5 separate regions of the Homo sapiens genome follow, and all the other regions are linked to region 1. The links are contacts of gene promoters, found by promoter capture Hi-C in blood cells and fetal thymus (Javierre and others, 2016). All regions are on one chromosome and are shown on one strand. The core of a region is centred on a gene start or on the middle of the fragment in contact, and the rest is flanking DNA. Distances in the headings are between cores, read along the strand shown.

Region 1 (4,864 bases), core at 1,046-3,545:
AAGGAAAAAGAAGCTAAGGAAAATATGTTTTTTAAAAAAAGAAGATGAGACCTTAAAGAGAATGAAGATAGGGCAAAATGAAAAGGGAAAGATGTAAAATGGAGGGGGGCGGGCGGGGAAATGGGCGAGGTGAGAAATTAAAAAGCGCAAGAAAACTTCCAGCCATCTTCTAACTTCCAGGTACTCTCATCACCTTGTGATTACAAAATAAGCCTGCTTCTCTGTTACGCAGGCTTCTCAGTACAATGTCTTCCTCTTCACGTTGACCTTCAGTCATCACCTACTGTCTCAATGTACCCCAAACTGCCCCCCTTTAGAAAACCATTGTTTCTCTAAAGCTCGTCCTCATACTCTAAATGTTATCATCTCTCTCTTACTCTCATATACAAACCATATTATCGCTTTCCTTATCACAATCTCTCCACCCTGCTTCCAACCCCAACATGTAAAAACAGGCCTCCCTCCTCAGGCCAGGCATTTCCCACCCCCAAACTCACACCTCTGCCTTGGGCATGCTACCAGGGGAAATACCTGCAGGGACATGCCCAGGCCTCAGATCATGGGTAGGAGAAAAAGAAAGGGAGGAAGATACTCACTGGCATTACTATCAGCCAGGCTGTTGAGGCTACTAGAAATGTCCCTGCGCCGGAAAAGACAGACAACCTTTGCCTCCACATTTCCATTTGCAGTCTAAGGGGAGGAAAAAAACAAAAACAAAACAACGTAGCAGTGGAAATTGATCATCTGGGAACAGAAATGCACAAAGAGACAAATAACAGTAAGTTTCAGAGGGACCTAAATTAAAAAGCCCAAGAAAATATGAGTAAAGACTTACATTCAAGGATAGACTTCCAAATCCCTTTCCTTTGCCCCCAAGAGACAGAATAGTAAAGTTCCTGCTAACCTCTCAATAGCCTTTCCTGAATACATCCAATGAATGAATGAACGAATATGAATGGGTACTTAGTATAGGATCCTCTCTTCCACCAGAAGTTAGAAACCTCAGAAGAGACCACTGCGGGAGGGAGGGAGAGGGATTCTGCTCCACTCACCTTGTTGAGCTCCTCAATCCGTCTAACCAGGTAAGGATTGCTGGAAGAGTTCTCAAAATAGACGTAATCTGTAAGGGAAGGGAGGGGGGAGAACCACGAAGATCAGAGGAGATGGGAGACGCAGAGCACCAGGGTAGGAGAGAAAGTTGGCCTGAGTGGATCAAAAGGAGATAAGGATTCAGGTAGAAAGGGCGCTGAGATGTGAAAGTGGACAGACTAAGAGAAAATAAGGATGTCCCCCATCCCCACCGCACCTAGTTCTAAAATTAGATCCTTTACTCAAAAGAGAGCCTTAAGGAACAGGCAAGAAGCAGGGGTTCCCCTGCAGTCCCCACAACTCAGCGATGAGTTGCACCCCAGTCGCGGCGAAGTAATTGTCCGCTCTAGCGCAGGGCCCCTACCTTTTCGAATCGAGGCGCACAATAACGCCTGGGAAGAGGAAACCTCCGGGCGGCTCCCCCGCGGTGGCAAAGCCGTCGCCCCAGCCCCTCGCGTTCCCTCCCTACCCTGTCAGCTCCTTCGGAACCGGTTCCGAAGGCCACTCCGTGCCCCGGGGAGCCCCTGACGCAGCCCCGAAAGTGCCGTCGGGGCTGCCCGCAGCTTCTCTCTGGGAGTCTCGGAGCCCTGCCGCGTCGCGGTTCCCCGCACCCTCTCTCCTCGTCTCCCGGTTCCGGTTCCGGTCCGCGCTCCGGTCCACGCTGCCCCATACGCTGCGCCTCGCGCCACCCGGTGCCGAGCCCCTCAGGTCCCTACCCCAACCTCTCCCGCCCCGGGCCCCGTATCCCTGCGCCCGGTACTCACCTCCCACCCGGTACATGTTGGCCGCCATGGCCGTTCCCGCCGCCGCCTCCGGCCGCACAAAGGGGTCCGGGAGGCTCGCGGGGGCAGGGCTCGGCTCGAGGCAAAGCCCCGAACGGTGGGCTGCCGCTTCGAGGGAGTCTCACTGGGGCCCGCGCAGCCGGCACCTCCGCTGCCTCAGCCGTCGCGGTTCATCCCGGCCCGCGCTGTCGCCGCCGCAGCTATCGCCTCACTCCCGGGACGCTGAGGCTGGCCCCCGTCCGCTCGGCTTCTTCCGGAACGAGCTCGGCTCCTGCCAGGCCAGAGCCAGGCTCCAGCTACCCCCGCCCCCGCGGAGTCCCACTAGTCGTTGGGCTCTGCCGGCCGCAGGGAAGGCTTGCCGGGCCCGCCTCAGGGTTCGCCTCCTTCCGGAACACCTTCGGCCGATCCGGAGAACAAGGCCCACTGCTCGGCTCAGGTCGGAGAGCGAGACCCCGCAGATCGGCTACTTCCGGAAGAAGTTCGGCTCCTGTCGGGCAACCGCTCGGCTATTTCCGTCGCAGCTCGGCCCCACCCCCTTTTCCGAGGGCGGGAGAGGAGTCGGGCTTAACTCTGTCCTCGCTGGAGCCCTGCAGCTCCTCCTCGCGCCCCAAAGACTCGCGCGCCTTAGCGCTTCGCCAGGTTATTTGCAAGCGGCTTTGCCTGTCATTTGCATAAATGGTCTACGCTCCCTTACCCTTTCCGCACGCCTCTTTTCCTTCGTCCCCACCCCACAGAGCCCCGGAGGCGCCCGGCAGCGCCCCACAAAAGCACCGGGAGGCGACTTTGGTTCTGGTTTATTGCCCCTCAGCAGGCAGCGGGAGTCAAGGCCTAGGCTGGGGCTGCCCGGCTCAGCCAGCGGGTCTAAACAGTGTGTGCAGGGGCGCCGTTCGCGCCCTCCAGGAAAATGCGCGATCGGGAATGTCTCGAAGTCAGTCCAGGAAAGAGTCGGCCCCTAGTCGTGGGGGATTGGGCCAGGGAAGGGCAGGGCGGGGCGGGGCCACGCCGCCGGGCCAGTCGGTCCCGCCAGGCAGCGATCAAACGTCGAGGGAGGAGGCGGGGGACAGGGAGGGGGTTCGAGAGGGCGTGGCGGGCGCCGGCCCCGCGCCCCCAGCGCCCAGCACTCGCCACTGGAAGATGCTGGCGTCCTTGCCGCCCAGCGAGACGAGGTGCGAGTCGTCGTGCGTGAATCGGACGCTGGTCACGTGGCTGCCGTGGCCCCCGTACATGCGGCTCGGCGCCTGGGCCGGAGGGAAGAGTTGCGGTGGCGGCTGAGCCCTCGGGCCCACCGGTCCCACCCCGGCGATCCCCGCGGCCTCACCTTGGCACGAGCGCACGGGTACTGGAAGAGATGCACTTTGCAGAAGTCGTCGGCCACCGCCACCACGCGCTCGTTGTGGGAGCGGCACAGGGAGTTGATGTCGGTCCCATCGGAGCCGTCCGGCCAGACGCCTAGCACAGCGGCCGGCCTCAGCCCGACCTCCTACCCACCGCCACCCACGGCCCAGAGCTACACCATTTCAGGCGCTCCGGCAGCCGCGGCCACCCACTGCCGCGTTCCAGGCAAGCCTTCCCGGTCCCGAGGGGCCTCCTGGGCTGGATCTTCAGGTTTCTGGACTCTCACCCAACGACACACGCCCAGCGTTCCAAGCCCAAACTGGGCTCCACCTTGTCCCCCACCCTTCCAGCAGGTTTCCACGCCCCTGCTCACCGTAGACGTGAAAGCCCAGCACACAGGTGTAGGTAGCCCATTCCCGGTCTCGGCTCTCATAGCGATTCTTCAGCTGCTTGCAGCCTCCAGCCACGTCCCCTGGGGAGAGGGAGCCCGCCCAGCTCAGCTCTCACCCTGCCCTCAGTAGGGAAGATGCCAGGGAAAGCCAGACTGGAAAGACTGGCATGAAACCCGGCGATGGCATGTGATCTGGTCACCGTAGTAGCATCACCTCCTCCCCCTGTGAAACCCACCCTGTGTGCGTCCTGTCCTGAGCTCTGGCTGAAGTTCTAACAGCTTCCACGAGTTCCTCCTCCCTAGATAAGTCAAGTGCTCCACACTTGCCCTGAGAAACTTTTCCCAAACAATCTTTTCTTAGCGCATTTTTGAACTCCCTCAAGTCAACAAGACATGGTGTGAAACTAGTTGTTTCCAAATCACGAAATTTCTCCTACATATAATTCCAACTCCACTTTAACCCCATCTCCACTTCCTTATCTAACAACACCTCTAACAGCCCCCCCTACACAAAACCCACTCCAATTACCCTCTCCCCATGTCCTGCTCCACTGCCACTCACAGTAAAGAATCTCATAGTCCCCAGAATTGGACATGATGAAATTCCCATCCTTGGACCAGTCAAGATGAGTGATGAAGCTGGAGTGACCCTGGGAGCAAAGGTCAAGAGTTTTAAAGTATCCCATCCATTTCCCATCCCCAGAGCCCCCTTGATGCATCAGACCCCTGAGTTTCGCAGCTGTTATCATGCCCCACCACACACCCCAACTTCCTCACCATACAGCGGCCAAAGCGGCTGGATTTGGCACCATCACTGGAAACACTATAGATGTAGATCACGTTGTCATGGGAACCAATGGCCAGGTACAACCCATCTGCAAATACAGTCACTCAGAGAGGGAAGGGCCAGGGACGCATGTGAGTCCAGGGTTGGGGTGGCTCCCACCTGGGCTGTACCGGACCACTGAGAGCTGCTCATTGCCATCAATGACATCAGACACGATCTCTCTGGTCTCTGTGTCCAAAACCAACCACCTGGAAGGGAGGGAAGTGGAGGCAGATAGGAAGACGAAAAGGCAGGATGTAAGGAGACCCCCAGGGAGGCCACCCTGGGTAGGCTTGGGGATGGCAAATAAGAGAAGCTCAGAGACACACACAGAAAGGCTCTGATGTAGAAGACAGGTCACAACTGCATTCTTCTTTTTTAGTTTGTTGTTGTTGTTGTTGTTGTTTTGAGACAGAGTCTCACTCTGTCACCCAGGCTGGA
Region 2 (4,644 bases), core at 1,589-4,088, 220 kb before region 1:
CAGCTTCTCAGGAGGCTGAGGCAGGAGAACTGCTAGAACCCAGTTGCAGTGAGCCGAAATCACACCACTGCACTCCAGCCTGGGCGACAGGGCAAGAGTTGGTCTCAAAAAAAAAAAAAAAATCAGTACTCCCTGGAATGAAGCCAAGAAAAAATATTTTAATGGAATAAATACATAACTTATTAAATGCATCTGTGTGTGTGCATGTGTGTGTGTGCACGTGTGTGCGTGTGTGTGTGTGTGTGTTTGCCATTCATCTGCCATCACCAGCCGATTAACAAATGACCCTGGTATGCACAATAATAACTAAGTTAAGTCATCATTGGTAGTTTGTCAGCTTGCAGTGAGCCAAGATCACACCCCTGCACTCCAGCCTGGGCAACAGTGCAAGACTCCGTCTCAAAAACAAAAAAAAGTCCGGGCGCAGTGGCTCACACCTTTAATCCCAGCACTTTGGGAGGCCAAGGCAGGCAGATCATGAGGTCAGGAGTTCAAGACCAGCCTGGCCAAGATGGTGAAACTTCATCTCTACTAAGAATACAGAAAAATTAGCTGGGTGTGGTGGTACACGCCTGTAATCTCAGCTGTTTGGGAGGCTGAAGCAGAGAATTCCTTAAACCCGGGAGGCAGAGGCTGCTGTGAGCTGAGATGGCGCCACTGCATTTCAGCTTGGGCAAAAGAGCAAGACTCCATCTCAAAAAAATTTAAAAAGTAGATTTTAGGTACTCTTACCACAAAAAAATAAAGAAAGGTAATTGTGAGATGATAGGTATGTTATTCTAGTTGACTGTAATCATAATTTCACTATGTATATCAAAACATTCATGGCTGGGTGTGGTGGCTTATGCCTGTAATCCTAGAACTTTGGGAGGCCAAGACAGGCAGACTGCCCGAGCTCAGGAGTTGAAGACCACCCTGGGGCCAACATGGTGAAACCCCGTCTCTACTGAAAGACAAAAAATTAGCCGGGAGTGGTGGTGCATGCCCATAATCCCAGCTACTCAGGAGGCTGAGGCAGGAGAATCACTTGAACCTGGGAGATGGAAGTTGCAGTGAGCCGAGATCACACGACTGCACTCCAGCCTGCGCCACAGAGCAAGACTGTCTCAAAAAAAAAAAAAAAGTTCACCTTATATACAGTGAAACATATATACAAGAAAAATACCGATTTTTCAAGATACATTTACCACAGTAACAGGATAGAACATACTTATAACTTCCCAATATTAAATATATGGTATGTGGGCCTCCAGTTGTATTTGTATTGTTGCCATGGCCCCTTGCAAATGTTAGAGGTGGGCCTGCCACCAGCAGGGACTGGGAGAACCCTCCTTCCTTATCTAACAGGTAAAGGGTAACACTGTTACTTTAATTTGCTCTTCCCTTTCCCTGACAGTGAGTTTGAGCATTTTACATTTGTTTATGGGTTTTTCCTTTTTACAAATTTGCCTAGTTTTGTCCTACACTCATTTTTTCCTTTGAATTATTTTTTCCCTTTCTTATCAGTCTCATTGTTTTTTCTTTTACATTTTTAACGTTCTTTATAGATAGATGGGATTTCTCTATGTTGCTCAGGCTGGCCTTGAGCTCCTGGGCTCAAGTGATCCTCCTACCTCTTCCTCTTGAGTAGCAGGAACTACAGGCACAAGCCACTGTACCTGGCTCTTATGAGCCTTAAGGTTATGTTCTGCTGTAAATAAAATTTTAAAAAATCCCAAATCTGCTGTTTTTATTTTGCTTTTGCTATGGTATTTTTGCCACATAAAAGATTTTAGGGCCAGGCGTGGTGCCTCACGCCTGTAATCCCAGCAGCTTGGGTGGCTGAGGCGGGTGGATCACTTGAGCCCAGGAGTTTGAGACCAGCCTGACCAACATGGTGAAACCCCGTCTCTACTAAAAATACAAAATTAGTCGGGCATGGTGGTGCATGCCTGTAATCCCAGCTACTTGGGAGTCTGAGGCAGGAGAATCACTTGTACCCAGTAGGTGGAGATTGCAGTGAGCCAAGATCACGCCATTGCACTCCAGCATGGGCAACAAGAGCAAAACTCCATCTCAAAAATGAAATAAAATAGGCCGGGTGCAGTGGCTTACGCCTGTAATTCCTGCACTTTGGGAGGCTGAGGTGGGTGGATCACAAGGTCAGGAGTTCGAGACCAGCCTGGCCAACATAGTGAAACCCCATCTCTACTAAAAATACAAAAATTAGCTGGGCATGGTGACACACGCCTGTAGTCCCAGGTACTCGGGAGGCTTAGGCAGGAGAATAGCTTGAACCCATGAGGCAGAGGTTGCAGTGAGCCAATATCACGCCACTGCCCTCCAACCTGGGCAACAGAGTGAGACTCCATCTCAAAAATAAATAAAAGTAAAATAAAAAAAGATTTTAAATTTTTTCTGGCAGGTGGATTACTTGAGGTCAGGAGTTTGAGACTGTAACCAGTTTAGGGTTACAGTAGCTCCCCTTATCTGCGGTTTCACTTTCTGTGCTTTCAGTTACCCACACTCAACTGCGGTCTGATGTTTTGAGAAAGAGACCACATTCACATAACTTTTACTATAGTATATTGTTATAATTGTATTATTTTATTATTGTTAATCTCTTACTGTGCCTAATTTATCAATTAAACTTTATCATAGATATGTACATATCATACATATCATAGATATGTACATATATATGTACATATATAGATATGTATAGGGGGAAAGATAGTGTTTATAGAGGTCAGCGCTAGCTGAGGTTTCAGGCATCCACTGAGGGTCTTGGAACGTATCCCCTGCAAATAAGGGGGGACTACTGTTTTACACCTACTGCTGCTGTGAACACTTGAGAATGCGCTTATGGTAAACACCTGTCCATATTTCTGATGGACAGATACACAGGTGTATAATTGCTGAGTCATGGAATGTGCATATCATCAGTTTCAGTAGATACTGTGAAATGCTTTTCCAAAGATGTTGGTACAATTGACACTAACAGCAGTACTGAATGAGAGTTCCACTTCCTGCACATCCTTGCCAGGTTTGATGTGCCTCTTCATTTTAGCCATTCTACTGGAGGGCAGGTGGAGTGGAAAGAATGATTTTTTTTTTTTTTTCTGAGATGGAGTCTCACTCTGTCACCCAGGCTGGAGTGCAATGGCACAATCTCAGCTCACTGCAGCCTCCACCTCCTGGGTTCAAGCGATTCTTCTGCCTCAGCCTCCCAAATAGCTGGGATTACAGACACACGCCACCACACTTAGCTAATTTTTTTTTTTTTTTGTATTTTTAGTAGAGACAGAGTTTCACCATGTTGACCAGGCTAGTCTCAAACTGCTGACCTCAGGTGATCAGCCTGCCTCGGCCTCCCAAAGTGCTGGAATTACAGGTGTGAGCCACAGCGCCTGGCCAAGAATGATTATTTTTAAGATTGAACTCAGGTTGTGTCACTTCCTAACTCAAACTGCCCAGCGTCCTCCCATTTAACTCAGAATAAAAGCCTTTGCAATGGCCTAAAGGTAGGATGATTATATTCTTTAGTGTTTAAACTGAAACTTAATTTTGAGAGTAAAAGTGGTACTATTAATAATTAAGCCATGACAGCAGGCATACATTTGAACTGGCCTGGGTAACTAGTGTGTATGGTCACCCCACTTGTCAAGAGATATCGTGATCTGGACTTGGCTGTCCCTCTGATCATTCTCCTACCACGCTCTCCCTCATTTTATTCTCTCCAGCCACACTGGCCTCCTTCAAATTCCATGCACATGGCAGGCATGTTTGTGCATCAGGAACGCTCCTCCCCAGCAGCTGGGATGGCATGATTGCCCCTCTGTCCTGCAGAGACACTCTGTGTAAAACAGCACCTCCCCACCATCACTCTTCCCTGGTGCTTCTTTGTTTTTTTGTTTGGGTTTTTTGTTTTTTTGTTTTGTTTTTGTCACCTGACATATTATTGCCCTGTTACTACCACCCTCTACCCCAAATGCAGGCTCCATGGGAGAAAGGACTTTGTTTAGCTTTACCACTGTGTCCCAGCACTTAAAACAATGCCTCAAATATAATTCATTATAGAACCTTGCTGGTGGGTATGCTGGGGTGTTCGTGTACAATTTGTTCAACTGTGTTACAGTCACGCGTCTCATGACAGGACAAGAAATGCATCCTGAGAAATGCATAGTTGGGCAATTTCATGGCCATGCAAACATCATAGGGGTGCACTCACACAAACCCAGATAGGAGAGACTAATACACATCTAGGCTATGTGGTCCGGCCTGTTGCTGCTACGCTACACACCTGTGCAGCATGTGACTGTCCTGAATCCTCTAGGCAGTTGTCACACAATGGTAAGTACTTGTGTATCTAAACATAGAAGTACAGTAAAAATAGAGGATTATAATCTCATGGGACCACCATCCTATATGCAGTCTGTTGATCAAAACATCATAGGTGGCACATGACTGTATTCGAGAATTCATAATAAAATGTTAGGGGAAAATTAACGGATTTGATCTTTACGACAACCCCATGCACAGGGTCCATAGGCAGGCAGCATCAGCGACACCCGGGAGGTTGTCAGAAACGCAGGATCAGCCAGGCACAGTGGCTCACGCCTGTAACCCCAGCACTTTGGGAGTCCAAGGCAGGCGTATCACCTG
Region 3 (4,938 bases), core at 37-2,536, 230 kb after region 1:
TGCTCCAAACCCGAGAGCTTCCGCTTGGCAGCTGCCTCCAAGGATGCCCAAAGTTCATCTGTCTCTGTGTCTTCTAGGGGCACCTTGTTGGGTTCTTGAGGCTCTTGGGGCTCATCCTGGTGAGTGGGAAGAAAGCTTAGGAGTCAGGGGGGCCGGGCACGGTGGCTCCCACCTGTAATCTCAGCACTTTGGGAGACCAAGGCAGGAGGATTGCTTGAGCCCAGGACTTAGCGACCAGACTGGGCAACATAAGGAGACCCCATCTCCACAAAAAGAAGTTTAAAAAAAAAAAAAAAAAAAAAAAAAAAGAAAAGTAGTCAGGGGCACAGGGACAAACCCACAGGGAAGGAGACCCTGGCTGAGAAAGAATCCCTCTGGGTACCACCACCTTTATTCCCTGCTCCTAGAAAGCAACCCCATCCATGCTGTTGGCAATAACCCTCTCAGGATTTTAACTGTTAATGCCTCTCAGAGAAATTAAGTGACCAGGCAGGTAAACAGATAGTCCCAAGTCTGCATTCCAGCTGCCTCCTTTTCCTCTCCATAGGGAGGTCCTCACATCTATGCCCTTGGCTCCCACATTCCCGGGCCCAACTGCTCACCTCCCAGTTGTCCCTGCCTGACAAGAGGAGGCAGTTCAATTGAGACTTGAGATAAACCTGCAAAAGATGAGGGACCTTAAGGAGCCAGGCATGCTGAGACAGAAACATGAACGGAGGGCACAGGAGGCGGGGCCTCCACAAGACCATGAGTTGGAGGTGGGAGAGACAACTTACCTTATGCTCCAGACCCCGTGGATTCTGGATCCTGTGTATCCTCAAGACTCTGTCCAAGCCACAGGAGGCTAGTAGAGGCTTTGAAGGGTGGCACTGCAACCCACGCACACTGCCTGCCAGCCCCTTCAGACAGCCCAGTAGACGCCCTAGAGAAGGGGGGAAGCATCCGTGATAACTGGCTGGCCAATAACCAACCATTCATTGTTTCCTGTTCCAATCACTTTCCATTTCAACATTTAATCTGCAACAAAACCCTGAGACTGGAGCTTCTACTAATATTTCCATTTCGCAGGTGAGGAAACTAAGGCACAGGGAGTTGAAATAATTAGTTTAAGGTCATACAGCTTTTAGGGAAACCAGGATTTAAACCCAGGCAATCTGGCACCTGAATGAGGCCTCACTGGCCCCACTGCACCACCTTAGAGGGAATCCTGACCCTTCTCCCTGCTCCTTCCTTTCCCCCAATGTACCCTAGTCCACTCACCTTGCCGAAGGTCAATTTCTGCCAGCTGCCCATGAGTGTTTCCCACAATCACTGAGCTGAGGATGAGACCAGAGGCAAGTGGGATCAGCAGTAACCTCCTGGAGCCCTTCTCAAGCCCCACCCTCCCACCCCTTCCCCTCTAAACACTCACTTGCCTCCCGGAGTGAGGGTCATGGCTGTTAGTGGGTACTCTCCATAGGTGGTCTCTAGGACTGGCCGGCGCTGGGGGGATGCTGGATCATAAACACGGACCTAGAGGAAGGCTGAAGCATCACAAAAGTATCCTCACCCTGCACCTACCCTCTGGCGTCTCTGCATCCTCACCCCCTCCCTGCACACTGCTTTCTTATTTATGATCCACTCCCAGAAACTTTCTCATCTTAGATGTATGCCTCTTCTCTGAGCATCAGGGTGTCAGGAGAGCTGCTTAGCAGCATAAATGGACAGAGCTGAGGGGAGAGGTCCCCTAGGTTGGAAGTGTGTGAGCATTCCATCCCCCCATACTCCCATCTAGGGGAAATGGAGGGACAGAAAAGCAAGTTGGTCTAGTAGTCAGTAGGTGCTAAATTTCAAGCAGGGGTTAGCCTGAATGAAGGAGGAAAGAGGATGCCCTCATATGTGTTTTGAGCAGAGGCATATGACCAAGATCAGACTTCAATGTGCAGAAGCAAAGAAAATAGGACAAATACAGTGACCCAGCCCCGCCCGTGTCTCAAGACCTCAAATGAGACAAACCATAAAGATTCCCCATTCGGGCCCTTCCTGTAAAGCTGAGGAGCTGAGGCCAGAGATGGGAGGCTCAGGCCTGGGTCCCAAAGCAAATCAGAGAGGCTGCATCAGGACCAGAACCCAGTTCTCTTAACACCCAGCCCAATGTCCTCTGACACCTGCACCCTATAATTCCCACAGTGAAGGGGATCCACTCTCCTTTCCTCTCTTCCAGGTGGGAGGAAAACAGGCATAGTTCAGGAAACTCCACCCTAGAATACAGTAGAGGAAGGTCATGGGCTCAGGGACAGGGTTGGAACAGACGGGGAAGCGCTTGCTCCTCTGAACTCAGAATGGTGAGAAGAGCAGTTGTGTCAAACCGTGGGGGCCATTTCTCCAGGAGGCTGCTTTATCCCAGGAGAAGGCAGGTGTGAGGTGACACCTTACCTGGTGGTACCCTGTGCAGGTGACAAGCTTCTGTGATCCTGGGAGAAACTGTATGTCCTGGTCCCAGATGGGAACCCGCAAGTCCAGCCAGTCATTCCGCACCTGGTGGGGTGGGCAGATGGAGGACAGGGCTATGGGGGGCTCGATGTGCCCCTGTTTTCAGCCCTCCTTCGCCCCCTAAGTCCATCTAGTCTCTAATGCATCGTCAGTGGCCTCAGCCTCCCTCGACTTCAGGAACAGCTCCTTCACACTCTTGTCACTCACGTTCTTGGCCCTGAACACAGGTTCCTCAGAGCCCTGCAGGTCCCATATCTTCAAAGCATTCTCTTTCCCACCTGTGGCAACCACATGGGGGTGTGCTGGGTCTTGGCGCATCCTACACACCCCAGGGCCCACTCTCAGTTCCAGGAGCTGTAAAGAATAGGAGATAAGAGTCCGTTCCAGAGTCCTTAATCCTCCCTTCCCCAGCGTGATCATTAGGCACCTACCCCAGCCCACCTCCCCCAACCATCAGGGCAGGGGAGCCTCACTGGGTCAGAGGATGTGTCCTTGTCCTTGTCATGCCAGACTCTGAGAATCCCAGAATCCACACATGTGATGAGGGTGCTGCAGAGAAAGGATAGAGTTGGGATTTTTTAAGTGCTTAAACTCCTTGTTCTAATCTTTCTCTCCTCCTTACTACTACAGTTGACTAATGTTTAAAGAAAAAAAAAAGTATAAAAGTATTCTCTAGGCCCCAAACTCATATCAACCAGATTCCCTACTAACAGTCCAGTTTAGAAGGAAGCCTCTAGGTCACTGGGCTCTAGGCAGGGCTTGACAGCTTCCAGCTTCCTAATCTGTTAATTCAACTTTCTCAACAGGGTGAGGGTTTACCAAGTGAGGAAATAGAAGCGCTGAGAAACTAATTTGCCACTCAGCTATGTTACAACCACAGCTAGAAATCAACTCTGTGATATTCCAGAGTGCTTTTGCTGTTCACAGCTATGTCTAGCATCTGGCTGTACTGGTCTGTCTGAATCTTGAGTTGCTTACTAGGGCTGGTCTGAATTTAGGGCTTGGTCAAAGTCAAACACCAACTTCTTGGGTTCCTTGCTCTGAGTTTCAGGCACTAAATGTCAGTCTCTTGCTTAAAATATCCCTCCCGAGAAGTCCAAGCAAGTCTCTCCCCAGGATCTGCACAGCCTGCGCCTATGTTCTTTCTCACACCTGCCAACCCTCCCTAGCTGGGTTCGGGCTCTGTATCGACTTGCCTGACCTGTGGCAAAAGTCTCCCAGTTGCTGTCTCCAATCCATCCTCCATACTCCTACAGGCTCCCAGTGCTGACTATGGTACTTCCTATTCAAAAACTGATAACTTGGCCAGGCACAGTGGCTCACGCCTATAATCCCAGCACTTTGGGAGGCCAAGGCAGGCAGATCACCTGAGGTCAGGAGTTCCAGACCAGCCTGGCCAACATATAGTGAAATCTTGTCTCTACTAAAAAATACAAAAATTAGCTGGGTGTGGTGGTACATGCCTGTAGTCCTAGCTACTTGGGAAGTTGAGGCAGGAGAATCGCCTGAACCAGGGAGGTGGAGGTTGCAGTGAGCCGAGATCATGCCACTGCACTTCAGCCTCAGTGACAGAGCAAGACTCCGTCTCTCAGAAAAACAAAAACAATAAATGAATAACTCACCAACACCAATAAAAGTGCACATCTCTCAACCTAGCACTTAAAGCCCTTTACATTTAATCCCAACCTAATATAGTGTTCATCTTGTATTAAAATGCTTCCTTGGCCGGGTGCAGTGGTTCACGCCTGTAATCCCAGCATTTTGGGAGGCTGAGGTGGGCGGATTGCCTGAGGTCAGGAGTTCCAGACTAGCCTGGCCAACATAGTGAAACCCTGTCTCTAATAAAAATACAAAAAAAACTTAGCTGGGCGTGGTGGCGGATGCCTGTAATCCCAGCTACTCAGGAGGCTGAGGCAAGAGAATCGCTTGAGCCTGGGAGGCAGAAGTTGCAGTGAGCCGAGACTGTGCCACTGCACTCCAGCCTGGGCAACAGAGTGAGACTCCGTATATAAAAAAAAAACAAAAAACAAAAAAAAAAAAACGCTTCCTTGTTATCAACTTCCAAATCAAATGCTATTTATCCTATTTATGTACCCTGTAGCATGCCTCCAGTCCTTGGCCTCTCCCAGGCAGTACCCTCTTTCTAGAATACCCTTATCCCCTTCTCCACCAGTCAAAATTCTACCCATCCCTCAAGAACCAGTTCAGACATCCAGTCCCCCCCACAGGCTTTCCAGACCTCACCTGTCAGAATTACCACCACCAAACCTATGCAGCCTGCTTCACAGCCCTCTTTCATCATCTTTGGAAGAAAGCAAGGCCAGTCATCCAACCACTTAGCACCTTCCTAATCTTTGCTTTCAGAGCTACATCACCTTGTTGGTGGTTGAGCTCAAGTTGAGCCCAGGAGTTTGAGACTGGCCTGGGCACACAGTGAGACCCCATCTCTATAAAAAACTTAAAAAT
Region 4 (5,160 bases), core at 1,522-4,021, 170 kb after region 1:
GGCTTGTTGTGGTGGCTCATGCCTGTAATCCCAGCACTTTGAGAGGCCGAGGTGCGCGGATCACTTGAGGTCAGGAGTTTGAGAACAGCCTAGCCAACATGGCAAAACCCAGTCTCTACTAAAAATACGACAATTAGCCAGGTATGGTGGTGCGTGCCTGTAATCCCAGCTACTCAGGAGGCTGAGGCACAAGAATCGCTTGAACCGGGGAGGTGGAGGTTGCAGTAAGCTGAGATTGCTCCACTGCATTCTAGCCTTAGCAACAGAGCAAGGACTCTGTCTCAAAAAAAAAAAAAAAAAAAAATTGGCCGGGCATGGTGGCTCATGCCTGTAATCCCAGCACTTCGGGAAGCTGAGGCGGGCGGATCACAAGGTCAGGAGTTGAAGACCAGCCTGGCCAACATGGCGAAACCCCATCTTTACTAAAAATACAAAACTTACAGCACTTAGCCAGGCATGGTGTCGGACACCTGTAATCCCAGCTCCTCCAGAGGCTAAGGCAGGAGAATCACTTGAAACTGGGAGGGCAGAGGTTGCAGTGAGCTATCACGCCACTGCACTCCAACCTGGGCGACAGAGCGAGACTCAGTTTCAAAAAATAAATAAAAATAAAAATAAATGAATAAAAACAGTCTGACTTTGACCAGGCACAGTGGCTCATGCCTGTAATCCCAGCACTTTGGGAGGCAGAGGCGGGTGGATCACAAGGTCAGGAGTTGGAGACCAGCCTAGCCAACATGGTGAAAACCCTGTCTCTACTAAAAACACAAAAATTAGCTGGTGGTAGTGGCAAGTGCCTGTAATCCCAGCTACTTGGGAGGTTGAGGCAGGAGAATCATTTGAACCTGGGAGGTGGAGGTTGTAGTGAGCCAAGATTGCGCCACTGCACTCCAGCCTGGGCAACAGGGTGTTACTCCGTCTCAAAAAAAGGAAAAAAGAAAAAAAGTCTGACACCAAAGCCATCATAGTTCTTGCCAGGCATTGGGTGTGTGGAGCGAGCCACCTTTCTCCCATCTGTGGCCATGGAGGTCTCACTACTGCCTTCCCTGGTTCCTGCCTCCACTCAGATTGGGAGCAAATGAGCTCCAGACAGGTTGGATACAGGTTCACTACATCTAATAGGTCCCGGGCAGTCCCGGTCTCCCTCCCATCTTCTAGTGTCTCCAAGGTTGCTGATGGCTGTCCAGAACAGTAAACCTAAGCAAGGAGGTCAGCCAGCTGCCCAGGTCTGGCTAAGCTGACTTCAGGCTCAGTCAGACCTTAGAGGAGAGCGCCCTCTCTCTTTCCCTTAACGCACAGGTGGGCAGACACTTGAAACCACTTCTAATATGGTTCTGAATATGAGTGGAAGAGACTCAGCAGGGTCACATTCTCCTTAGGTGGGGTTGCCATGGCAACCACAGTCGCATCCATCTGGCTTTGCCAGCTCGGGTCCCAGGGGATTTTCTTTTCCAGCGGCAGCAGCATCTAACCCTGAGAGGGGGAAAGAGAAAAAATGTGTACATTCATGCTCCCTTGCAGAATGTTCCCACAGTTCACTCAGTGCAAACTACCCCATCTTGGGTGAACTTAAAGGAATTCACTGTATGCCTTGTGACATGTGAGGGAAAGAAAGTTTCTCTCTTTTTTTTTTGAGACGGAGATTCACTCTTGTTGGCCAGGTTGGAGTGCAGTGGCGCGATCTCGGCTCACCACAACCTCCGCCTCCCGGGTTCAAGCAATTCTCCTGCCTCAGCCTCCCGAGTAGCTGCGATTACAGGCATGTGCCAACACACCCGGCTAATTTTGTATTTTTAGTTGAGATGGATTTTTCTCCATGTTGATCAGGCTGGTCTTGAACTCCCGACCCCAGGTGATCCCCCGCCTCGGCCTCTCAAAATGTTGGGATTACAGGCGTGAGCCACCGCGCCCGGCCGGGAAAGAAGTTTAACCTCCAACTCTGCCAGGGACTCTCACAGACATTAATTTACAACAACCCTGTGAAGTGCGCATTATTACTCCATATTAGGTAATTTGCCCAAAGGCAGTGTCAGAATTTTAACCCAGGTCGGTCTGATTCCAAATACCATCCTTTACTCACTAAGCCCACTGCTTATCAATTAAGAACTGCCCAAGTAGCTGCTATTGCAGTGGGAGTTGGAGAAAGAGAGCTGTCAGTGTGCGTGTCCAACGGTCATGCAAGGCGAGGTAGGCCAGGGCTTGTATTTGGTTCACAGGCGTGGGGAGAATGCGAAGTAGGTGCAGAAAGAGCAGAACCCTGGAGTCCGGAGCTTGCACGGGATGTTCGGCCGGGTCAGAAGTCCCTTCTGCCTGCCGAGAACACCTACCGAGAGCCCCATCTATCCCTTCAGGAAGGGGAAGTGGCATGTGATGTTGGGGAGGTAGGCCGGGCAGGAAAACTAAGCCAGACACCAAAATCTAAAGCTTTGCTGCAGTCGCGAAAATGCGGGTGCTCAGAAACTCGCGAGCAAACAAGACAAAGAAAATCAAGACGCTGTCTTTGAGACTGTTTATTTCCTCGTTACTATTGTGGTGGTAAAAAAAATAAAATATGCTTATTAAACGTGTGTTAAAACAATACACACCTACTCGCAAACGTAGCAAGAGAGGTTGCTTTAAGAAGCGGGAATCTTCAGCGTCACGTGACCGCCGGTCTCTACAGTCTGTTCACACTGGCCAATCAAGAGCCAGGAAGCCTCCTGGAGGGCCGGAAACTTTCCAAGGCGCCCGCCGACTGGCTGTATTGGGGAGGGCGGGGCCGGGGCCCCGGGAGAGGGAATGAGTGTGAGCTCGTGAGTGGGCGCCGCCGCCACCGCCCCCGCCGCCGTCGTCTCGGTAGCAGCCTTCGCCACGCCGGGGTCTTCAGGTGAGCAGGCCTTGCTCTGGTCCAAGGACTCCCCATTCCCGACGCCGACTGCTTACTCACCAGTCTTGGAGCCCGCACCGCGAGGGCCCGCCCCCTTGGCTGACCACGTGACCCAAGTTCAGTGACCCCTGACCTCCTCCCCCCGCGCACCCCCTCCCCGATCTGGGCTGGGCTAGGCCGGGTGGGAGGATGCGCGTTGCCGAGGCCCGGCCCGCGGAGGTCAGTTCCCACGCCTCCTCTCCAGCGTGACTAGTGGCTGAGGATGCGGAGGAGAGGAGGCTGAGGAGCGGGAGACTTTGGTCACAGTCTAGATTTCGTGTACGGTCATATAATAGGGAAACTCCCTCCGTGCCTTTCGCGCTGGTGGACTAAATGCTCCCATTTTACAGATAGGGAAACTGCAGCTTCACAACGATCTATTGGCGGGTCTAGGGTCACCAAGGGGTGGGTCTCCAATCCATGTCTTTGGGGTGGGATCCAGGCCTTGTTCCCCATACAGCTGGCGGCTCCTGAATGCGGTATAGAGTAAAGATTAGGAGCAAGGGGTTGAGTCCTTGCTCCCCCTCCCTACTTACTCAGTGCTTACTTCATGATCTTGGAGAAGTCATGGAACATTTAGCCTCTGAGGTTTGATTTCCTTGCCTGTGAAATAGACGAAATACATAATAATATCTTATTATTGAGAATATAGTGAAGTAATCCATATAAAGCACTTAGCTGTGTCTCAGGCATAGTACAGTGCTATTCGTGGCCGGGCGCGGTGGCTCACGCCTGTAATCCTAGCACTTTGGGAGGCCGAGGCACCTGGATTGCCTGAGCTCAGGAGTTCGAGGCCAGCCTGGGCAACACGGTGAAACCTCGTCTCTACTAAAAATACAAAAAATTAGCTGGGCATGGCGGCGTATGCCTGTAGTCCTAGCTACTCGGGAGGCTGAGGCAGGAGAATTGCTTGAACCAGGGAGGCAGAGGTTGTAGTGAGCCGAGATCACGCCACTGTACTCCAGCCTGGGTGACAGAGCGAGACTGTGTCTCCAAAAAAAAAAAAAAAGCTCGTCGGGCCAGGTGCGGTGGCTCTCACGCCTGTAATTTCAGCACTTTGGAGGCCGAGGTGGGCGGATCACCTGAGGTCAGGAGTTCCAGACCAGCTTGGCTACCATGGCGAAACTCCATCCCTACTAAAAATACAAAAATTAGCCAGGTGTGGCGGCACAGGCCTGTAATCCCAGCTACTCGGGAAGCGGAGGTTTTAGTGAGCCGAGATCAAGCCACTGCACTCCAGCCTGGGTGACAGAGTGAGACATCAGACATCATCTCCAAAAAAAAAAAAAAAGAATAGTTCTTCTTTCTTTCTTTTAGAAGATCTTTTTTTTTTGTTTGTTTTTGTTTTTTGTTTTGTGTTTTTTTTGAGACTGAGTTTAGCTCTGTCATCCAGGCTGGAGTGCAGTGGTGCAATCTCGGCTCACTGCAGCCTCTGCCTCCTGGGTTCAAGTGATTCTCCTGCCTCAGCCTCCTGGGTAATTTTTTGTATTTTTAGTAGAGACAGGGTTTCACCGTGTTAGCCAGGATGGTCTTCATCTCCTGACCTCGTGATCCACCAGCTTCGGCCTCCCAAAGTGCTGGGATTACAGGCGTGAGCCACCATGCCTGGCCTATAATTACAAATTTTTTTTTTTTTGAGATGGAGTCTTGCTCTGTCGCCCAGGCTGGAGTGCAGTGGTGCGATCTTGGCTCACTACAACCTCCACCTCCCGGGTTCAAGCAATTCTCCTGCCTCAGCCTCCGGAGTAGCTGGGACTACAGGCGCGGACCACCATGCCTAGCTAATTTTTGTATTTTTAGTAGAGACGAGGTTTCACCATATTGTCCAGGCTGGTCTAGAACTCCTGACCTTGTGATCCACCCGCCTTGGCTTCCCAAAGTGCTGGGATTACAGATGAGCCACTGCGCCCGGCCTACAATTTTTTTTTTTTTTTTGAGACGGAGTTTTCCCCTTGTTACCCAGAATGGAGTGCACTGGTGCGATCTTGACTCACTGCAACCTCTGTCTCACGGGTTCAAGCGATTCTCCTGCCTCAGCCTTGCGAGTAGCTGGGATTACAGGCATGTGCCACCACACCTGGCTAATTTTGTATTTGTAGTAGAGATGGGGGTTTTTCTATGTTGGTCAGGCTGGTCTTGAACTCCTGACCTCAGGTGATTCGCCCGCCTTGGCCTCCGAAAGTGCTGGGATTAGAGGCGTGAGCCACTGGGTCCAGCTACAAATTCTTACGACTGGTTTGGAGGCAGAATGCAAG
Region 5 (4,595 bases), core at 1,706-4,205, 210 kb after region 1:
AATTGAAAGAAAAAAGATAAAAACTTTTGTTTTAAATATCAAATGGGGGCCGGACATGGTGGCTCACACCTGTAATCCCAGCACTTTGGGAGGCCGAGGCAGGCCGATCACGAAGTCAGGAGATTGAGACCATTCAGGCTAACATGGTGAAACACTGTCTCTACTAAAAATACAAAAAATTAGCCGGGCATGGTGGCGGGCACCTGTAGTCCCGGCTATTCGGGAGGCTGAGGCAGGAGAATGGCTTGAACCCAGGAGGTGGAGCTTGCAGTGAGCCGAGATCGTGCCACTGCACTCCAGCCTGGGTGACAGAGCGAGACTCCGTCTCAAAAAAAAAAAAAAAAAAAAATCAGATGGGGAAACTTGAACATGGGCTGATTACTGGATCATGTTGGAGAACTGTTAATTTTCTTAGTTTGAAAATGACATTATGGGCAGGGCGTGGTGGCTCACACCTGTAATCCCAGCACTTTGGGAGGCCGAGGTGGGTGCATCACGAGGTCAGGAGATGGAGACCATCCTGGCTAACACGGTGAAACCCCGTCTCTACTAAAAATACAAAAAATTAGCCAGGCGTGGTGGCGGGCGCCTGTAGTCCCAGCTACTCAGGAGGCTGAGGCAGGAGAATGGTGTGAACCTGGGAGGCAGAGCTTGCAGTGAGTGGAGATCGCACCATTGCACTCCAGCCTGGGAAACAGAGCAAGACTCTGTCTCAAAAAAAAAAAAAAAAAAAAAAAAAAAAAAAAGACATTATGGCTGTTCAGGAGAATGCCTTATTATTAGCATGCTGTAGTATCTAGGAATAAAACAGCATGAAATTTGCACCTACTTTCAAATAATTCGGCAAAAGAAAGAGGGGAAAGGCTGAATGTGGTGGCTCACGCCGATAATCCCAGCACTCTGGGAGGCTGAGGTGGGCGGATCACAAGTTCAGGGGTTTGAGACCCGCCTGACCAACATAGTGAAAACCTGTCTCTACTAAAAATACAAAAATTAGCTGGATGTGGTGACGTGCACCTGTAACCCCAGCTACTCAGGAGGCTGAGGCAGGAGAACCACTTGAACCCGGGAGGCGGAGATTGCAGTGAGCTGAGATCTCGCACCACTGCACTCCAACCTGGGTGACAGAGCAAGACTCCATCTCAAAAAAAAAAAAAAAAAAGAAAGAAAAAGAAAAAAAGTGACAAAATGTTAACAATTGGTGGCCAGATCTGGCCAACGCCTGTAATCCCAGCACTTTGGGAAGCCAAGGTGGCTGGATTGCTTGAGTTCAGGAGTTCAAGAACAGCCTGGGGAATATAGGAGACTCTGTCTCTACAAAAAAATTTAAAAATTAGCTGGACATGGTGGCATGTACCTGTTATCCCAGCTACTGGGGAGGCTGAGGTGGGGGGATCACTTGTGCCCAGGAGTTTGAGGCTGCAGTGAGCCATTATTGCGCTACTGCACTATAGCCTGAGTGACAGAGTGTCACCTTGTCTCAAAAGAAAAGAAAAAAACAAATATGAAAACAAAAAAAGTTAGTGACTACAGGTGAAGGGAATATGAGTGTTTATTGTGCTATCCTCCCAACTTTTCTGTAGTTTGAATATTTTATGAGGTGAAAAGGAAAATGACTGAGCAACATTAGATCAGTGGTTTTCACACCTTAGGAAAAATAAGAATCACCTGTTGAATTCTCAAATATAAAAATTCTCAAGTGTCACAACCAGAAATTCTAGGTTGGGGCCCAAGAATCTGCATCCCAAAAAACTTCAGACTTAATCAGTGGTTTCTAGAGCAAGTGCTGAAACCCAGATCCACTGGCATGCAGGGAGGAAGCATATGAATGTCTACACCTATTTTAAAGATGGCATCCTTTCATAAATTTATTTTGTATATGGTTGCCCATAAATTCTACTTCCTTATTTCTTTTATGCTCCAACATACTGTAAAATTGCTACTGAGCCATTCCACTGAAAATACTGGCACTGATCCAATTAATTCAAGCCCCTCCTGACTCAAACACATCCTTACCTCGAACTTTCTTTCTCAGGAGCAAGGAGAAATAACCACTCCTTAAAATTCTTCTATCCCAAGTTCTAAGGACACATTTCTCTCTCTGCTTTCTTCTCTCATCTTCCTCAACCTTCCTCCTCAGTCTGGCCAGATTCTTCCCTTCTCTACATACCCCCTGACTCCATGGGGGATCTGTCCTGACCTTTTTTTCACTTTACCCAGTCTCTGGGTGGTCTATGCCCAGGGTTTCACCAAGAGGCCACTGTCCTAAGTCCTTACCTCTAGCACTGCCTTCTCTTCCAAACATCAGAACATGAAATGCCTACTAAACTCTGTCATTTAGCTGTCCCATGAAGTCTGAGGCACTCAGCACACCCAGAACAAACCTAATTCTCACCCAGCATCAATCCGCTTGCTTCTTCTTATGTTCTCTCCCTGACACCAAATTTCTTGCTGTGACACACAGGTTATCTGTGACCTGGCCTTGCCTCTCACCACTCCCCCAGCCATGCTGAATAATTCTGCACTCCTGTATCTACCAAGTTCTTTCTCATTTCTGTGCTGTTTTTTCCTCACATGGAACAGCTTCTCCTTTCCCCTTTTTGGGCTGGCATTCCCTCCAAGTCTTAGCTTGGTATCACTTCTGGGAAGGCCCCTTGGCCCCATCTAGGAGCAGTACCTACTCTGAGTTCTCTCATCCCTTTTTTTTTTTTTTTAATAGACACGGGGTCTCTGTGTTGCACAGGCTTTCTTGAACTGCTGGCCTCAAGTAATCTGCCTCGGCCTCCCAAAGTGCTAGGATTACAGGGATGAGCCACCACACCCAGCCTCATCCCCTTCTCTTCTTGCCCTATCATACTGAGCTGTCACTGTCAACTTATGTCTCTCCTACTAGTGAGCTCCAGGAGGACCAGAATGGTCTTTCACCCTTTTATCCTCAGACCCAGCAGGATTAGCTCACAGCAGCAACAAATGTTTGCTAAACCAATGAGCAAACACATGCTAACAGTGAAAAATACTTATGACACTGTTTCAAGGAAGACTAGAATGTAAAGTTGCCTATATGCTATAACTTTATTTTAGATGTATATGGATTGAGGAAAGAACTCAAATACCTTTTTTTTTTTTTTTTTTTTTGAGATGGAGTTTTGCTCTTGTTGCCCAGGCTGGAGTGCAATGGTGCGATCTCAGCTCACAGCAACCTCCGCCTCCCGGGTTCAAACCATTCTCCTGCCTCAGCCTCCAGAGTAGCTGGGATTACAGGCATGCGCCACCATGCCTGGCTAATTTTGTATTTTTAGTAGAGACAGGGTTTCTCCATGTTGGTCAGGCTGGTTTCAAACTCTGGACCTCAGGTGGTCCGCCCGCCTCGGCCTCCCAAAGTGCTGGGATTACAGGCATGAGCCACTGCGCCTGGCCCTCCATATCTTTTATAATTCTGTTTCACTGACTCTATAATATTCTTTTTTTTGGAAACGGTGTCTCACTCTGTTGCCCAGGTTGGAGTGCAGTGGCGTGTGGCGTGATCTGGGCTCACTGCAAGCTCCGCCTCCTGGGTTCACGCCATTCTCCTGCCTCAGCCTCCCTAGTAGCTGGGACTACAGGCGCCGGTCACCACACCCGGCTAATTTTTTTGTATTTTTTTTAGTAGAGATGGGGTTTCACCGTGTTAGCCAGGATGGTCTCGATCTCCTGACCTCGTGATTCGCCTGTCTCGCCTCCCAAAGAGCTGAGATTACAGGCGTGAGCCACCACGCCCAGACTTAATATTCTAATATTCAAAATACAACATAGCTCAGGGAGCTATGGTGTTTATGGCATAATTCTGCAAGGGGTTCCCTAGGTCTCAGCTGAAATAGATAAAAATCAATTAGGCCGGGTGCGGTGGCTCACGCCTGTAATCCCAGCACTTTGGGAGGCCGAGGTGGGCGGATCACGAGGTCTAGGAGTTCAAGACCAGCCTGGCCAATATGGTGACACCCCATCTCTACTAAAAATACAAAAATTATCCGGACATGGTGGCTCGTGCCTGTAGTCCCAGCTACTTGGGAGGCTGAGGCAGAAGAATCATTTGAACCCAGGAGGCGGAGGTTGCCACTGCACTCCAGCCTGGGTGGCAGAGTGAGACTCCGTCTCAAAAAAAAAAAAAAAAAAAATCAGTCAATTATTAGCCAGGCATGGTGGTGCATGCCTGTAATCCCAGCTACTCGGGAGGCTGAGGCAGGAGAATCACTTGAACCTGGGAGGAAGGGGTTGCAGTGAGCCAAGATAATGCCACTGCACTGCAGCCTGGGTGACAGAGTGAGACTGTCTCAAACAAACAACAACAAAAAAAATCAGTCAATTCTCCTGACTCTAGGATCAAGACAGCTGTACTCACGGTACCTTATAAATGGCTGGTGCTCAACATATAGTAGTTGAATAAACAAACTTTCTTTTAATCAGTAGTTCCCAAACCTGGATGCTCATCAGAACCCCCTATGGAATTTGTAAAAATGAAGCTCCCTGAAAAGCCCACTCCATTCACATCTCTCGAATCAGAATCTCCAAGTGTTTTCTTTTACCTTGGCCAGTTAAATGTGTGAGGCTGCTTAGTG

The links. The method cuts DNA at HindIII sites, captures the fragments that hold promoters and counts their contacts. A CHiCAGO score of 5 or more calls a contact.
Region 2: a contact is called between a fragment that was not itself captured here and the fragment with the promoter of MTA2 in region 1, in 1 of 17 cell types (M2 macrophages). The highest score is 5.2, in M2 macrophages.
Region 3: a fragment that was not itself captured here is called in contact with the fragment with the promoter of MTA2 in region 1 in 3 of 17 cell types (total CD8 T cells, monocytes and naive B cells); the score reaches 6.5 in total CD8 T cells.
Region 4: the fragment with the promoter of TAF6L here is called in contact with the fragment with the promoter of MTA2 in region 1 in 4 of 17 cell types (non-activated CD4 T cells, total CD8 T cells, naive B cells and 1 more); the score reaches 5.6 in non-activated CD4 T cells.
Region 5: a fragment that was not itself captured here is called in contact with the fragment with the promoter of MTA2 in region 1 in 10 of 17 cell types (total B cells, naive B cells, naive CD8 T cells and 7 more); the score reaches 9.7 in total B cells.

What each region holds. Positions count from the first base shown.
Region 1 is chr11:62,599,570-62,604,433 of GRCh38, forward strand. MTA2 (metastasis associated 1 family member 2) reads right to left here and starts at 2,296. Exons shown (of 18, transcript NM_004739.4): 1 at 1,854-2,296; 2 at 1,053-1,120; 3 at 597-690. The coding sequence starts at 1,881. EML3 (EMAP like 3) reads right to left here. Exons shown (of 22, transcript NM_153265.3): 17 at 4,544-4,632; 18 at 4,375-4,472; 19 at 4,160-4,247; 20 at 3,580-3,678; 21 at 3,190-3,320; 22 at 2,649-3,109. The coding sequence ends at 2,906. RefSeq lists enhancers at 1,167-1,877, 1,312-1,361, 2,742-2,791, 3,300-4,009 and silencers at 1,612-1,691, 1,772-1,871, 1,942-1,991. The HindIII fragment of the contact is 11,513 bases long and covers 1-4,864 here.
Region 2 is chr11:62,383,808-62,388,451 of GRCh38, forward strand. All of the region lies in intron 4 of ASRGL1 (asparaginase and isoaspartyl peptidase 1), which reads left to right. Among named protein-coding and RNA genes, the nearest start is that of SCGB1A1, 33 kb to the right of the region's middle. The HindIII fragment of the contact is 6,766 bases long and covers 1-4,644 here.
Region 3 is chr11:62,833,016-62,837,953 of GRCh38, forward strand. It overlaps WDR74 (WD repeat domain 74), which reads right to left. Exons shown (of 11, transcript NM_001369450.1): 4 at 2,946-3,021; 5 at 2,680-2,826; 6 at 2,416-2,517; 7 at 1,412-1,512; 8 at 1,261-1,316; 9 at 777-922; 10 at 603-659; 11 at 1-116. It overlaps STX5-DT (STX5 divergent transcript), which reads left to right. Exons shown (of 2, transcript NR_135084.1): 2 at 548-1,028. Among named protein-coding and RNA genes, the nearest start is that of TEX54, 2.6 kb to the left of the region's middle. The HindIII fragment of the contact is 2,307 bases long and covers 134-2,440 here.
Region 4 is chr11:62,768,625-62,773,784 of GRCh38, forward strand. TAF6L (TATA-box binding protein associated factor 6 like) reads left to right here and starts at 2,772. Exons shown (of 11, transcript NM_006473.4): 1 at 2,772-2,866. It also overlaps a transcript of TMEM223 not described here. RefSeq lists enhancers at 1,010-1,059, 3,222-3,361 and a silencer at 2,622-3,031. The HindIII fragment of the contact is 6,431 bases long and covers 2,423-5,160 here.
Region 5 is chr11:62,808,960-62,813,554 of GRCh38, forward strand. The region is part of intron 10 of STX5 (syntaxin 5); the gene reads right to left. Among named protein-coding and RNA genes, the nearest start is that of NXF1, 5.8 kb to the left of the region's middle. The HindIII fragment of the contact is 8,125 bases long and covers 1-4,595 here.